5 separate regions of the Homo sapiens genome follow, and all the other regions are linked to region 1. Evidence: promoter capture Hi-C in 16 types of primary human blood cells and fetal thymus (Javierre and others, 2016). All regions are on one chromosome and are shown on one strand. Each heading gives the region's core, a stretch centred on a gene start or on the middle of the fragment in contact. The rest is flanking DNA. Distances are from core to core; before and after follow the strand shown.

Region 1 (2,853 bases), core at 196-2,695:
TGCTTAGTGTGCCATTTAGGAGGACCTATGAGGAGGGAGTTTTGCTCAGGCTTCTCTGCTGCATAACCAGGAGGCTGATTTCTTACAGAAATTACCACTTGTAATTATATTTCCTTTGTTGCTTTCGCTGGCAGGAAACTCTAAGTTTATGAATCTCTTCTTTAATACTAAATAGATTCTTATAGCATGACTTTATTCGTATTTTTTCCACTGACCTAATTTATTGTTCTGGCCTTGTGGGAGAAGGGGCAGTGGTCCTCTTTGCCTTTTAAATTCAAATACTCATGTATTTTTGCAAACCATTTCAAATCTTTTTTTGGATCTAAATGGAATAGGAATAACAAATTTAAATTAATGCTCAACTTGCTTATTTATAGACTTTTTGCTCTTGTTTTCCTTTTTTCAAACCTCATCCAGCCCTCAAATCCAGCTTTTCCATGCACCCCTTCATTCTTCACTGATCTCCATTTTCTCGGAGCTCTTGTGTTAATATAATTTTGCATTTTACTAAGTATGATTTTGGATACCTCCTAGTGTTTCATGTGTATTAGTCCTGTAGTTCTGGGTTGTAGTTTTTTTAGTGGTAGGGACCATGGCTCATACTTTTCTGAATCTAGTAAAATAATATTGTATCAGAAATGCTTTCTGTTTACACTATAATTGTAACAAACATTGAATTTTTTAGCTTATTAACTCTCAGAGCACCCAGTACATCTTATTTAGAATTGCAGGAACCCATTTTTGTTTCTCTACAGCAGCCGAAGCTTGTTTCATAGATCTTGCAAGACTATTCAATCATTCAGTTAAAATTCCTTGACCTCCTGCTGGATGATGTTCGACAGGGCATTCATCTTCACGACACCCTTCGCGATGAATGGTAACATCTGGGCGGGTAGAGGTCCATTTCTACAGCAACCTGGGGGAGGAACAGGTAGGGTAGGTTTTGGTGTGGGTGCGATTCTTGGGGACTTCTTCAACAGGTAGGACATCAAGTCTGTAGCCAAAACAACACCTGGGCGAAGGGCAAATACCGGAGCCCCGACCGGCTCACGCCCAGTAATGCTTTCTCTGGGTTCTAACTACGTGATCAGGTCGTCTTGGTTTGCCAGGGAAAGCCCAGCGTCTTGACAACCCTGTCAGTTCCGAACAAACCGGGTCGATTGGTCACCGGGGCTCGAATCCCGACTGATATGACCCAGCGGGGACAGAGGATCCCCCTCAGTGCCACAAGTACATTCCCCACCGAGCAGCGCGCCTGCGCCAGTTGCTCTCATGCGTCAAGACTACAGGTCCCAGCAAGCATCGAGGCCCTCTCCAGGCCATTCTTCCGCCGGCGGGGAGCTCTCGTCGGCGTATTTGTTAGGTGTGGCGCGGAAGAGTCCGTGCGTGATGACGTCGACGCGGCGACGTCGAGCTCTTCCTCCTTTTCACGGCGTCTTGCATTACTATTGTGCGGCTGCAGGAGGTGTCGAGCGGCGTTATTTTTTTTTGCGGTTTGCCTTTTTTTTTCTTTTTTTTTTTTTTGGAACCGCGGTTGTTTAAAAGCCTGAGGGAACCTGGAGAGGGGCTCCCACTCCCTACCCTCTTTCCTCCGAGTTTGTGACTCCGAGATGGACAAAGTGTGTGCTGTTTTTGGAGGCTCCCGAGGCATTGGCAGAGCTGTGGCCCAGTTAATGGCCCGGAAAGGCTACCGACTGGCGGTCATTGCCAGAAACCTGGAAGGGGCCAAAGCCGCCGCCGGTGACCTCGGCGGTAGGTACCAAACTGGAGTTGTCCAGTTGTATGGCCGCGGTCCAGGCGCCTAAAGAAAATCTCCTTTGTAAAAAGAGCGGGTCTGGCCTTTAGGGCTCTAGGGTTACTCGATGTAGCCGCGTGCAGGCGCTCTCCCGTTCCAAGGGTAGAATGCGTCTCGTGCAGAAACCCGCGATCTCCCTATGCCTCGCAGAATGCCGGCCACGCAGCTTGCCGCCGAGGGCTGAACACTTGGGGTGTTCTTTGAGACCTCGTAGTCTTTTGAGGCCCCGCTATACGCACCCTCCGCCCTGCGGCTAGTGCTAACGCTGAGGAGCTTCCCTGTTGTGGGAGAGAGCCACGTAACAGTTTACTTTTAATGTAGGGAAAAGGGCGAGTTCTCGGCCCCCGGAGACAGGGCTGGGTCGAAAGGAGTTCAGGCAGGAAAGGTGGGAGTGCAGGTACCAACGGCTCCCTTCAGTTTTGCCCAAGGGCCGTGCCTTGGCCCTGCGCGAATGCACAAAGCAGTGTTTGATAGAGAAACCCTTTTGAGTACCAGCCAGTTTTGAGATATACCTGGTTTGCTTTAATGTTATTAAATTGTTTTGGTGAGTTTTGCAAATGGACAATTGAACTTTGTTCTGCCAAATTCTTTTTTATTGCATTTAAACTTCAGGGTTTTTTATTTCCGGCTTATTATGAATGGATTAGTCATTTTGTGAATATAACTCTTCATTGAGTTTAGGGAGAAATAGGACGTTAGATCCGAAGATGCTATTTGTTTAATCACCAGAATGGACAAAATTATACTTCATTTACTATCAGGGAGGCATGGGGAGAATAGAGGCCTAGGGGTGCGTCTTGTGGCTCTTACTGTTTTTGTGTATCTGGTTTTTTTTTTTTTTTTTTGAGAGGGCTTCCCATTATGTTGCCCGTGCTGGACCCCAACTCCTGATTTACTGGCTCTAGAGATCTTCTCGCCTCAGTCTCCCAAGGACCTGGGACTATAGACGCCAGGTGTGGCTGTTCATTTTTAAGTTAACATTATTGATCGGTTTGGTATCACCTGTTCAGTGCTGGTTGGGAGACTATTGGGCTCTCTAAAAGAAAAAAGATTCTGTA
Region 2 (2,853 bases), core at 354-2,853, 4.4 Mb before region 1:
GATCGCGCCACTGCACTCCAGCCTGGGCAACAGAGTGAGACTTTGTCTTAAATAAATAAACAAACAGATAGCAGTAAGGATGACCTGAATTAGTTCATGTTGAATTTTTAACTGATGAGGGGAAAGATGATGTTGCTCACAGTTTTGCTACTTGACAGTACTTTCTCTACTTAAAAGAACAGCATATTTTAGTAATATAATGTATGCTTTCCAGTCTTTCTAACTGAATACCCAAATTATAGTCCAGATACAAAACCATTCGTTTTCACAAATGAGCCATCGACTTCAAAACTATATTTAAATTTCAGTTATACATTTTTCTGAATATTAAATCAATGTATTTATCTATAACACATTTTTCCAAAACAATCTGAAATTATGCAAGTTCACCTGAAGAGTTTCTCATGGATAACACTGAAAACTGTTTAAACGGGCAAAAAGTGTCACAAATAAACTTTTCAAAAACTTTAATTACATATACTCCTGCGAGCTGTAGACTAGCATTTGAAACAAACACGGACTGAGCTAACAGGCTTTTACATTTACTTCTAAGCCAAGCGCAAGATAAAAATATGCAGGACTTGTGGTAGGTTCTCGATACCATGTTATTCATTTACCGCTAGCCAGATCTCCCAAAAGTAGCAACGGCTGTTTCTAAAAACCTCATAGATGGTCAAACGAAAAGACGTGCAAAAAATCCTGATGGCTGCCAAGGGGATGGCAAAACCGCAGAGGCTACGTGCTCCCCACCATCGGAGTAGCTGCCCTCGGAGCTGACAGCGCAAACGCCGTTTACAACCCCGGCTCACTGCCAGGCGGCGGGTGAGCTCGGCTTCCCTCTCACTCCGCTCCGGAGGAGACGGAACACAGAAAAGAACAGGATCTTCCTTGTTCGTGAAGGTCCTCCGCTTTCTCCTAGACGACGGGATTTAGTACCGCCTGGGGCCAAACACCAGCTTGGGCAGCAAAACAAAGGCGCCTCCATTCCAGAAGAGCTGCCGGGCTGCAAGAAAACTACTCTGGGCCCTCAGTGCGCCGGTCCCCTTTGTTTCGTGTCCCGGTCGCAGAGGAGAAGGAAGAGGGAAGACTGCGCGGGAGAGACGCAGGCAGCGGGAGGTTGGGGGCCAGGGTGGGAAAGAAGAGGGGAACGACAGCCTGTGTGTGGTGTGTGTGTTGGGGTGGCGGTAGGAGTTGCAGCGACTTTGTTATTTGCTTCCAAACACAGACTCCACGAGACCGCACTGCAGCCAGTGCGGTTGTCTGGGGGACCCCGCCGACAACCCGTGCCTTTGCCCGGCTCCTGGGGCCCCACCGAGGGGCGGGAGGGCAGGGCGGTCCCGCGGTTTACTTACGCTCTTATCCAGCTCGATCTTCACCTTCTTCTGGGAGATGCTCTTCTGGATCCTCTTGCTGAAGCTGGCGTTGCCTGCCGCCCGGCCGCACCGCTCACCATCCTCCCGCAGGCAGCACAGTTGCCCGGGGCCCGGCCCGGCCGCCCCCGGGGGCCCAGCCGCTGAGACCGCCCCCGCGCCCGGCACCTCAGCCCCGGTGCCCGCGCCGGTCCCGTTCCCCGCCGAGGCGGCGGCGGCCGCGGCAGCGACCACTGCGGCCACTGCGGCGGCCGCATCCCCGCCGCGGCTCATCTCGTCAGGCGTGAAGCCGTTCATGTCTCCGAGCTCCCGAGGCCGGCGCTGACAGAAATCCCCTCTCTCCTGGCCGCTCCGCCTCTCTCCGCTCCGGCAGCGGCAATTCACTCTGCACACCAAGTTAGACAGCGGCACGGCCAAACACCAACTGTCCCGGGCCTGCTGGTCTCTGCTGGCACCGAAACAGTGGACAGTGCTGAGGGCCGGGACGCAGACTCGAGCGTCTCCTGGAGCGGGGACCCCGCTCACTGTCACATGGGGACTTCAGCAGTTGGACCGCTACGCCTCCGCCTCCCTCCGGCCCCGGGACCTGCGCAAGCGCGACGCGCCCCCTCCCGTCCCGCCCCTTTCTTTCTGCCGCGCGGCCCCATGGGAATTGTAGTTCTCTGCTGCAGAGTCAACCTGAGCTCCGCCCTGACCCCGCGCCATGAGGGACGGAGGAACTACTAATCCTAGCATGCATAGCGCGGCCACGGACCCACTTTTTTTTTTTTTTTTTTTTTTCAGTACCGGGAAAACAGGAGCGTGTGATTGGGGTTTACAGTGTTTTCTCTCGCTCTCTCTGTTTCTAGGGAATTCGGGCTGTGTTTAGCTGCTGGAATATCGTAGAATTGGTTTTCAGAGAAGTTCCTCGACTCCTGAGGCGAAACATAAAGGGATGGGAGTGGTGTGGGAAGTGATCGTGTGGGGAAAAAAAAGTTTCGAGCCCGTTTCGCATTTGTGGAGACAGAGTTTTTGGTGTGACCACTCTTTTGTGGGAAACCCAAACCAAGGAGAACTCAGGAGAATTGGCGCTCTTCGGTCCTGGAGGTTCCGCAGCTAACATCCCGGCTTGACCAACTATCGAGGCCGCAAATTAATAGGGCACCTCCTGGGAGGAAAACGCCCATCCTGACTTCTCAACTGTGACAGGTCCCCCTCACAAACGCCTTGCGGGGGGGTGGGGGGGCGTTTCTAAACACTTGCATGTTCTTACAAGGGAAATGTTTTTATTCTTGGGCGCACCAAGTTGGCCGCCTCCTGAGGTGGAGTACGGACCAGTTGACAACAGGGCTCCTTTTCACCTCCACGCCCAACCTTTTCCATTTCTCCTCAAACGGTTTTGGAGAAGGGCGGAGTCATATCATTTTAAAGGAAACTTGGAACCTCACCAATACAAACGCTGGTCGAATGTTCCCAGAAACTTCCCTGCATTAGCTCTACCGGG
Region 3 (2,853 bases), core at 99-2,598, 4.3 Mb before region 1:
TATGTGTCAAAATGTCAAACTGAATATTGATGGAGCCAGCACAGGTAGAGAGCTGTAGGAAAAAACCGTGATCTTTCTTTAGTTAGAGGGGAATCCAAAATAGTTAAAATGTGAATGGCCAAATACTTACTGCTTATCTCAGTTTTCTGATGAGTTACTATAATGAAATAATCTAGTCCAGAAATAAATGACTTGTCTTGGGCTTGCTACGCAAAAGAAGAAAAAAATGCTATTAAAAAAGTTATTAGCCAATGGCTGCATATAATAGAATATCTATCTAACAGTATTATTATGAGTTTATTTTTCTGACATATAAGAAGACTGAGAGAAGATGGTTACTGGTAATGGTTCAGTAGTTCAATAATGTCCGGGTTGATGTCTACAATTTTCTTGCCTTTCTCTTATGCTACTGAGAATAGCTTTCTCATGATTGGTTTGAACCCGCAATAATTTATCATTACCTTTTTTATAATCAAGATATTTTTTAAAGTAAGAAGAAAGGAGAAAATGGGTTTTGGGTAATTAACAGAGTTCTGAACAACAACCTAGATTTAAGAATTTTAGACAAAGGTATAGAACAAGACCATGCTACTTTATAGTTTTCAAACATAAAGGTTTTTAGAAGTTAACAGTAATGAGTTATTGATATGAATTATAAGTTTAAAAACACCTATTAACCTAGAAAATATTTAATGAATATTTAATAATCATTACATTGAAAAATTCATCCAATAAATATTTGAGCCTATGCATATGCATAGCACTGTACTAGGCCTTAGGAGAGATGTAAAAACATGATATGCACCTCCTGCCTTCAAGAAACTCCTAAACAATAATTTTTGGTATTACATTTTATATTTTATAACACTCTCTCATAGGCGTTCTTTCTTTTGAAATTTATAACTCCATGCATTAGGCAGATAAAATTTTTACCTGATGAAGAAGTTGAGACAGACCCTGCTCTTGTCTCTCTGGCCATTACCACTTCAACATTGATTTCTTGACCTGAGGGCTTTCTCCAAAGCTGTGGAAGGCAGCTCTGTCCCTATGTGATCAGGGCAATTTGGAAATGCCTGGGAATTAACAAACTCCCACTCTAGCAGCCTTCACCAAGTGACTGGAAAGATTTGTTATATAGATACCCCAGCTCACTTGGCCTTCAGATGGGATAACTTTGAGGCCTGTGTTTTCCCAGAGTTTTCTCATGGGATTATGCTCCAGTCATTATAAGTGGTATCTGGCTTGATACCGCACCCTTTATTGACTGTTTTCCCTTCTTTGTCTCGCTTCCCCACCTCCTACTGGTGTTTCCTGCATCTCTTAGATAAACTATTTGCAACAAAATCCTTGTCTCAGGTTTCTATTGAGCATTTCCACTAGGTTATTTCCCCTAATACCTGCCCTGAAAGTGCCTGGCTTAATGAGGGGGGCACACGATTCAAATCAAGCCAGTTGGAATCCTTCACAGGGAAATTTTGTCCAGTCTGAAATACTGAGAAAGGAACTCTCTTCCTTCATCCTTGTTTCATTTTGGTTTTGCATCATTCTATTTCGAGTAGTGTCCGGCACAACGTAGAAACTTAATCTTTCTGGAATATTTAATGAATCCAATTCCTACAATTTCTTTCCTGCCAACTTGCATTCATCATCAGCCATTAATTTTAAAATGTATGAAATAATGTTGCTATAGCATATCATAGTGTCACTGCATACTGTAGTAGTTAAGTGCATGGACTCAGGAGCTAGACTGCTTGAGATATAAACTCTGCCACTTGCCAGTTGTTTGACTGTGCTGGTTATATTTCTGTTGTCTGTCAGTTCCATTCTCATTCTTTTACTCTCTCTATATTACAGAGTACTGGAATTCTAAATATCATTTCCCAGATTCACTTGCCAATTTCTTTCCGGTTCAGTTCTGTTAATGGGAGATTCAAGGCCAAGAGGATGGAAGGCATTTTTGCTTTTCTTCTGGCTCCGGCCTCTGCAATGCTGTGCTCTACTACCCTGACTCCAGGAGTGGCCCGAATAGGGTGAAGGATGCATAATCCTCAATTATGCGTAAGTGCATTTTTTCAGTCTAATTAGAATTCCAGGCTTTAAAATTAGATGTATATTTTGAAAAGTATATCTGAAAATTTCATAGTTTGTGAATATATTTTTAAATACAGTCAAAATACTAAGCACAGTAACAACACGATTTAGAGGACAAAGTTGTAAATATGCCACCTTTATATTTATAAGAGTATTTACACAAGAATTTGCAGTTTTAAGTCGTTATCAATCATTGAGTTGATATAAGGTCAATATAGTATTAATATATCACCTACACAAAAGCAGATAAAAAGTTATTTTCAGCAGGGCATGATGGCTCACACTCGTAATCCTAGCACTTTGGGAGGCCAAGGCAGGTGAATCACTTGAGGTCAGCCTGGCCAACATGGTGAAACCCCACTTTACCAAAAATACAAAAATCAGCCGGGCATTGTGGCGCATGCCTGTAATCCCAGCTGCTTGGGAGGCTGAGGAAGGAGAATCACTTGAACCTGGGAGGCGGAGGCTGCAGTGAGCTGAGATTGTGCCACTGCACTCCAGCCTGGGCAACAAAGTGAGAGTCAGTCTCAAAAATTTACAAAAGGATGATTTCCTAATATGAAAGTGACAGATATTCATCTGAATATGGGCCAAATGAACATTTCTATTACAATTCAAGAACTACAGGCTGGGCGCGGTGGCTCACACCTGTAATCCCAGCACTTTGGGAGACTGAGGCAAGTGGATCATGAGGTCAAGAGATCGAGACCATCCTGGCCAACATGGTGAAACCCCGTCTGTACTAAAAATACAAAAATTAGC
Region 4 (2,853 bases), core at 177-2,676, 4.2 Mb before region 1:
CTAAGATCTCAGGAGTTGGGCAAGTGGGCTCCAGCATGTGCACTAATAGGCAAAATGGCAGCTTTTAACTAGTATATGCCCTTCCTCTAGGAAGGCTCAAATTGTAAGGGAAAAATGCCTCAAGTGAGCATGAGTAAAACTTCAGTAAACACACTGCAGGCAGCCCCTCCCCGCTGCTGGCAGGCCACTGCGCATGCAGACAGCCCACCCCAAGGGAAGAATCACGGGAGAAGAAACGCAAACCCTGGAATCATGCCAATGTATAAAACCCCAAGTCCAGGGTCAGACGAGGTACTTGGATTTCTCAAGTAGCCCACATGGCCTTCTTCAAAGTGTACTTCCTTCCGTTCCTGCTCTAAAGCTTTTTAATACTCTCACTCCTGCTCAAAAATTTGCCTCGGTCTCTCACTCTGCCTTATGCCCCTCCAATAAATTCTTTCCCACAGGAGGTAAGAATCGAGTTGCTTCAGACCTGTGTGGATTTGCTACTGCTAATAGTCATTTCTTCAAGTAAGGCTTTTATGACCAAATTCCTCCATTTTCTTGCCCCCTATGGTTTTCACTATGAAAGCAGTAGCACAATTTTTATTTATATATTTATCGAGGTTTGATTGCTGTGTGGTTTTTACAAGATCCATGAGATTAAGGACAAGGAGTATTTCCTTAACAACTAGTACCATGCCTGGTATATAATTGGCACTCAAAAATGTTCAAATAAATCAATATTTAAAATCACACAACAGAATATGATCGGAAATGTAAGGTCATTTTTCACATCATTCACTTCAGAGAAAGGGCAAGAGGCCCAGAGATGGGAAGGAAATAAGAAACATGTTTCTTTTGTCTTGACTCCACAGGTGGACAGACCTAAAACAAGGAAATAGTGCAGATGAGAAAGGACCATCCCAAGTTGTCAAGGCTGTAACAGAATTTAGTGTATGACATATTCATAGTTCAAGACAAAAAGTGGCACAGGGTGAATGGAGCCACAGGTACAAGCTTGCTGGAGTAGAGGCAGAACCCATACCTGGTAAACTGGATCGTTCAGGCTATTTAAAGGGATCCAAAAAAGTCCATGTGTAGATCAGCATTAAAGAGAAGCAGAGATCTCACCATGGGTGGAATATATGCAATAGTCATCGAAGTAAAAGAACCACAAGGGGGAGGAGAAACTCAGGAGTCAGAATCCTCCCTACAGGATTTGTCCTTCTAGCACTGTACCTTAAAAGCTCCTAGGTTAGTCTTTATTAAAGGAAGGCAATAATCCCTTATTTATGCTCTTATTATTTATAAGCTACACTTTAAATTGCTTGTATTACTATTTACCTGGGAAGCCAATAAAAGGGTCTTTCTTGCTCTTCTGATACCTAAGCATTCCTCTTAATGTTAATTATGTTAAGTCTTTAAAATCTACCTTTTGTTTTTGACAAATGACAGAAATTACACTGGATCCACTGAGAAACTTTATCAAGTACACTGAAACAAACAAAAAATCAAGATATCATCACCTTCTTTATCATCACCATATAGTACTGAAATGGGCATTATGGCCCATCCTTTGTTTGCACTAATAAAATATTCCACGAGTTGGCAAGTGATGCTGATGTTCCGCCACCTCTTTAAAAGATCATCAGAAGGGCGGGACATTCTGAACCTAGCTAGTTTTGTCAGTTTTTCGTCAGTTTCTCTACCAGAAAATAGGGGGTTAAACATTTCTAGCTACATGTAAAAAGCCATTTGATGACTTAAAACAAATATCCTCAATTGCAATATTCAGTTATCCTTTGTCAATAAGTCATATTGAGAGCAAAATTATAAAAAGATCACCATCACTCCATGAGCTGAGAAGCTTAAAACCGCAAATGTACTGAAAAGGAAAACTGATACTTTTTATTACCATCAATTTAGATGACTTAGATGGGAATCTATCCCAGATATTACAAAGGGATTCCACTGCTGTAGAGACTTCAAATACTAAAACTTCCAGATTACATCTAATCTCATGATATAGGCGAAGAGCTGATAATGGGATCTCCTCCTAGGATTCTTACTCTTGAAAGGACGCCACAAGCCTTTTTGCCCAACTTCTTGATGCTAACTTTCCAGAAGGAAAGTTAAATAAACATGACATAGAAGCGATGCTCATCACACTTGCAAAAAGCACTTTACAACAGAGAGAGCGACTCGACTCCTCCTGCAGCCCCGCCGCCTCGGCGGTCGTGAGCCCCTCATACCCTCTCCTACCCCCACTGGCAGCCGGCCCAGTTGGCTGTCCCAGCGGGGAGGAGGAAGCAGGTGGTGCAACGGTTCATCCGGGGGGAAGCAGGTCAGGGTCGGGGGCGAGGCCGGTGCGCGCCGCCCGCTGCCGGGTCAGGGAAGCCGCAGTGCCCGCGGTCCCTTCCCCGCGCGGCGCGGCTCCGGGTAACTAATGTTCCGAGGCGCCTGACTAAACCCTCCAAATCCAAGGAATGTCAGCGCTAACACTCGCGCCCTGGGCGGCAGACAAATGCGTCCCAGCGGAGCCGCCGCGAGCTCCGCGCCGCCGCTCCCCTCGGCGTCGGCCTGAGCTAGCCGGCAGCCGGCGCGGGGCGGCCGGGCGCCGACACAAGTTAGTTTTCCGGCCCAAGCAGCCCTGCCGCAGCCAAGGAAGAGGAACTGCTCCTCTTCCCCCGGATAGCGCCCGAGCACTGCCACAGCAGGGGCTTCCCCAGGCGCTGAGGGCTGGGGGCGGCGGGCAGGCGGGGCGGGGACGCCCCTCCGCCATCTCCGGCCAACCGCCCCTCCCTCGCCCAGGGACGCGAGGGGGACCGGCGGTCCGGGCGAGGCCTCGGCCGCGCATCGCACCCCGGCTCC
Region 5 (2,853 bases), core at 96-2,595, 3.9 Mb after region 1:
GCCAACATGGTGAAACCCGTCTCTACTAAAAATACAAAAATTAGCCAGGCGTGATGGTGCGCAGCTGTAATCCCAGCTACTCTGGAGGCTGAGGCAGGAGAATTGCTTGAATCCGGGAGGCAGAGGTTGCAGTGAGCCAAGATTGCACCACTGCACTCCAGCCTGGGTGACAGAGCGAAACTCTGTCTCAAAAAAAAAGAAAAAGAAAAAAATAAAGAAAAAGAAATGGGGAGTGATTCAGCTTTTTTTTCTTCCAAGTGGCTGGTGGGTTTTCTCAACATCATTATTAAATTATCCATCAGGTCGGGCGCGGTGGCTCACACCTGTAATCCCAGCTCTTTGGGAGACTGAGGCAGTCAGATCACCTGAGGTCAGGAGTTTGAGGTCAGCCTGGCCATCATGGTGAAACTCCATCTCTACTAAAAATACAAAAAAATTAGTTGGGCGTGGTGGCAGGTGCCCATATTCCCAGCGACTTGGAAGGATGAGGCAGGAGAACCGCTTGAACCTGGCAGGCGGAGGTTGCAGTGAGACGAGATCCTGCCATCGGACTCCAGCAACAGAGTGAGACTCCATCTCAAAATAAATAAATAAATAAATAATCCATCAACTGGGGATTACTTTTAAAAGAAATATAAAAGTCAAGTTGGAAAGGAACTAGGCCCCTTTGATTCCTAGAACGGTTGTACAAAGACTGAGACTCAGCAGAGTGAGCTTCCTGAAAGAGGGTAAAGCCTCATATAGTTTGGAACTGAATCAGAGCCAGATTAGGGAGCTACTGCTCAGCTCAGTGTGGAGAATCAAAATAATTATTTTATAAGTTATTTGGGGATACCTTCAAATATTCTTTTAGACCTCAACACACAGCATTATGAATTGTATTGTAAAAGAAAAGTTTTACTTCTTAACTGTCTAGAACTTAATTAAAAGAGATATCACTACAAAGCACTTAAAGCCCCATCTTCTGATTATTTCTGAAATAAGGAGTTCCTCCCATGAGAATGCTGCCGACTGCTTGGGCTGGATGCCTGAGCCTGGTACTTGGCATTAAAGAAGAATCAGGAGTGAGTGGAGATTAGACAAGGTCAGCTCTATAATCACTAAGTAGTAGCCTTGAGTTTCATGAAGGTTACAAAATTCATTTTCACCCTGAGTTTCGGTATGTGTTTTCTAAAACCTTTCAGAGAAATTGTGGTTTTGGTCTGAAACTTCACATATTTGGTGTCTATCCAAACATGAATTACTTTTGGGATTTTTAGCAAACTTTTTTTTCTGCTCCTGAGTCAGTGAAACAAACAAACAAACAAAATTCTGCCTTCAAAAATAAGTGTGCTTTTAAATGCCAGGATTTGAGATCATAAGAACTTTAGGAGAAAACAAACAATAATGAGAGGGCAAGTACTGGATATCAAGCCTGAAACTTTACAAGCCCTGAGACCTCTAACAGAGTCCATTATCACTCAAATGTGGAATGTTTGGTTACAACGGGACTCTATTTGTGGTACAGGTGCTTTGAAAGATACAAACATTTACGAAACAAATAAGTGGAAACTGGAATGTTTCCAATTGCTTACAATATCCTTAAATTTCTTTCTAGAAAAAAAAATTTTTCCAGAAAAAAGTACATAAACTAAATATAATTTGATATGCTAAAATAACTATTGACCTCCTTTTTTTGTCTGTTCATTGAAAGGGAATTTTTCAATGGCATCTCTCTAAGTACCTAAGAGAGATTTAGCTACAAAACATTATCCAAAGACAGAATTTTGGATATCTTCATTTCTGACAATGGTATAGGGCAGCCTAAGAGAATTGTAGAAATATTTAGCTAGGATCAACTTGTTCTAAAATTTTATTTAAAAGGCAAGTTAAGAAAAAAAAAATAAGTATGGGAGGTGGTAAATACATTAATTAGCTTGATTCAATCATTCTGCAATGTATCCATATACCAAAACATCATGTTGAACATCATAAATATATATAACTTTTATTTATTGATTAAAAATAAATTTAGGCTGAGCACAGTGGCTTATGCCTATAATCCCAGCACTTTGGGAGACCGAGGTGGGAGGACTGCTTGAGCCCAGGAGATCAAGACCAGCCTTGGCAACATAGTGAGACCCCATCTTTATTCAATAAATAAATAAATAAATCCATTTCAAAGGCAGATTAAAGTCAATATCAGTAAAGAGATCCTGCTTTAAAATTAACAAAAATATCAATTAAGTACCTATTGTTTGTATGCATGTTACGTTATGCCAGGCTGAATAATAGAAATCATAGTGAATAAAGGACAGATTTTGATGTTGAAAAAAAATCAATGAGATATTATTAACATTTTAATATCTGTGATCAGGAATGAGCACGGTGCCTGGAACAATGCTGATGGTGACAACACAGGAAAGATGGGGCTTCAGTCCAGCATCTTCTAATGGTGAACTGTTTGGTAGCATAGAGGTGGAAAGGTCATGGCTGACACTCCTATAACAAAAGCCAGATTAACAAGAGAAAAGCATAACAGATTTATTTATTTATTTATTTAAGAGGGAGTCTCGCTCTGTCACCCAGGCTGGAGTGCAGTGGCGCGATCTCGGCTCACTGCAACCTCTGCCTCCCGGGTTCAAGCAATTCTCCTGCCTCAGCCTCCTGAGTAGCTGGGATTACAGGTGATCTAATGACAATAGACTGAGTAGGGATAAGAATTTACAAGCATCTACTTTAATGCTTAGTACCAGGGTCAGCAAGGCCTGTTTGTTCAAAAGTCATAGAGAAACTTGGCTTTTGAGGCCTGCCAATGTGTCCTTCACTTCAAGTACTCAGCATGCAAAAGCACTATACTTGTGATATTATCCT

Evidence for each region. Contacts are between HindIII fragments. The CHiCAGO score rates a contact against its expected background, and 5 or more counts as called.
Region 2: a contact is called between a fragment that was not itself captured here and the fragment with the promoter of CBR4 in region 1, in 1 of 17 cell types (total CD4 T cells). The highest score is 5.0, in total CD4 T cells.
Region 3: a fragment that was not itself captured here is called in contact with the fragment with the promoter of CBR4 in region 1 in 1 of 17 cell types (non-activated CD4 T cells); the score reaches 5.2 in non-activated CD4 T cells.
Region 4: a fragment that was not itself captured here is called in contact with the fragment with the promoter of CBR4 in region 1 in 2 of 17 cell types (non-activated CD4 T cells and activated CD4 T cells); the score reaches 9.9 in non-activated CD4 T cells.
Region 5: a contact is called between a fragment that was not itself captured here and the fragment with the promoter of CBR4 in region 1, in 2 of 17 cell types (naive CD8 T cells and total CD4 T cells). The highest score is 8.1, in naive CD8 T cells.

What each region holds. Positions count from the first base shown.
Region 1 is chr4:169,008,847-169,011,699 of GRCh38, reverse strand. CBR4 (carbonyl reductase 4) reads left to right here and starts at 1,445. Exons shown (of 5, transcript NM_032783.5): 1 at 1,445-1,752. The coding sequence starts at 1,611. CBR4-DT (CBR4 divergent transcript) reads right to left here and starts at 1,271. Exons shown (of 2, transcript NR_185919.1): 1 at 1,244-1,271; 2 at 640-916. RefSeq lists enhancers at 1,066-1,395, 1,495-2,444. The HindIII fragment of the contact is 6,180 bases long and covers 767-2,853 here.
Region 2 is chr4:173,369,997-173,372,849 of GRCh38, reverse strand. SAP30 (Sin3A associated protein 30) reads right to left here and starts at 1,896. Exons shown (of 4, transcript NM_003864.4): 1 at 1,353-1,896. The coding sequence starts at 1,667. SAP30-DT (SAP30 divergent transcript) reads left to right here and starts at 2,152. Exons shown (of 4, transcript NR_183973.1): 1 at 2,152-2,558. RefSeq lists enhancers at 786-1,085, 789-1,352, 2,436-2,675 and silencers at 1,206-1,585, 1,866-2,035. The HindIII fragment of the contact is 6,906 bases long and covers 1-2,853 here.
Region 3 is chr4:173,342,402-173,345,254 of GRCh38, reverse strand. No RefSeq gene overlaps it. Among named protein-coding and RNA genes, the nearest start is that of HMGB2, 9.5 kb to the right of the region's middle. The HindIII fragment of the contact is 3,910 bases long and covers 1-2,853 here.
Region 4 is chr4:173,169,600-173,172,452 of GRCh38, reverse strand. The region is part of intron 1 of GALNT7 (polypeptide N-acetylgalactosaminyltransferase 7); the gene reads right to left. It overlaps GALNT7-DT (GALNT7 divergent transcript), which reads left to right and starts at 2,801. Exons shown (of 7, transcript NR_134242.1): 1 at 2,801-2,853. RefSeq lists a silencer at 2,264-2,853. The HindIII fragment of the contact is 850 bases long and covers 1,002-1,851 here.
Region 5 is chr4:165,117,050-165,119,902 of GRCh38, reverse strand. No RefSeq gene overlaps it. Among named protein-coding and RNA genes, the nearest start is that of TMEM192, 5.6 kb to the right of the region's middle. The HindIII fragment of the contact is 7,778 bases long and covers 1-2,853 here.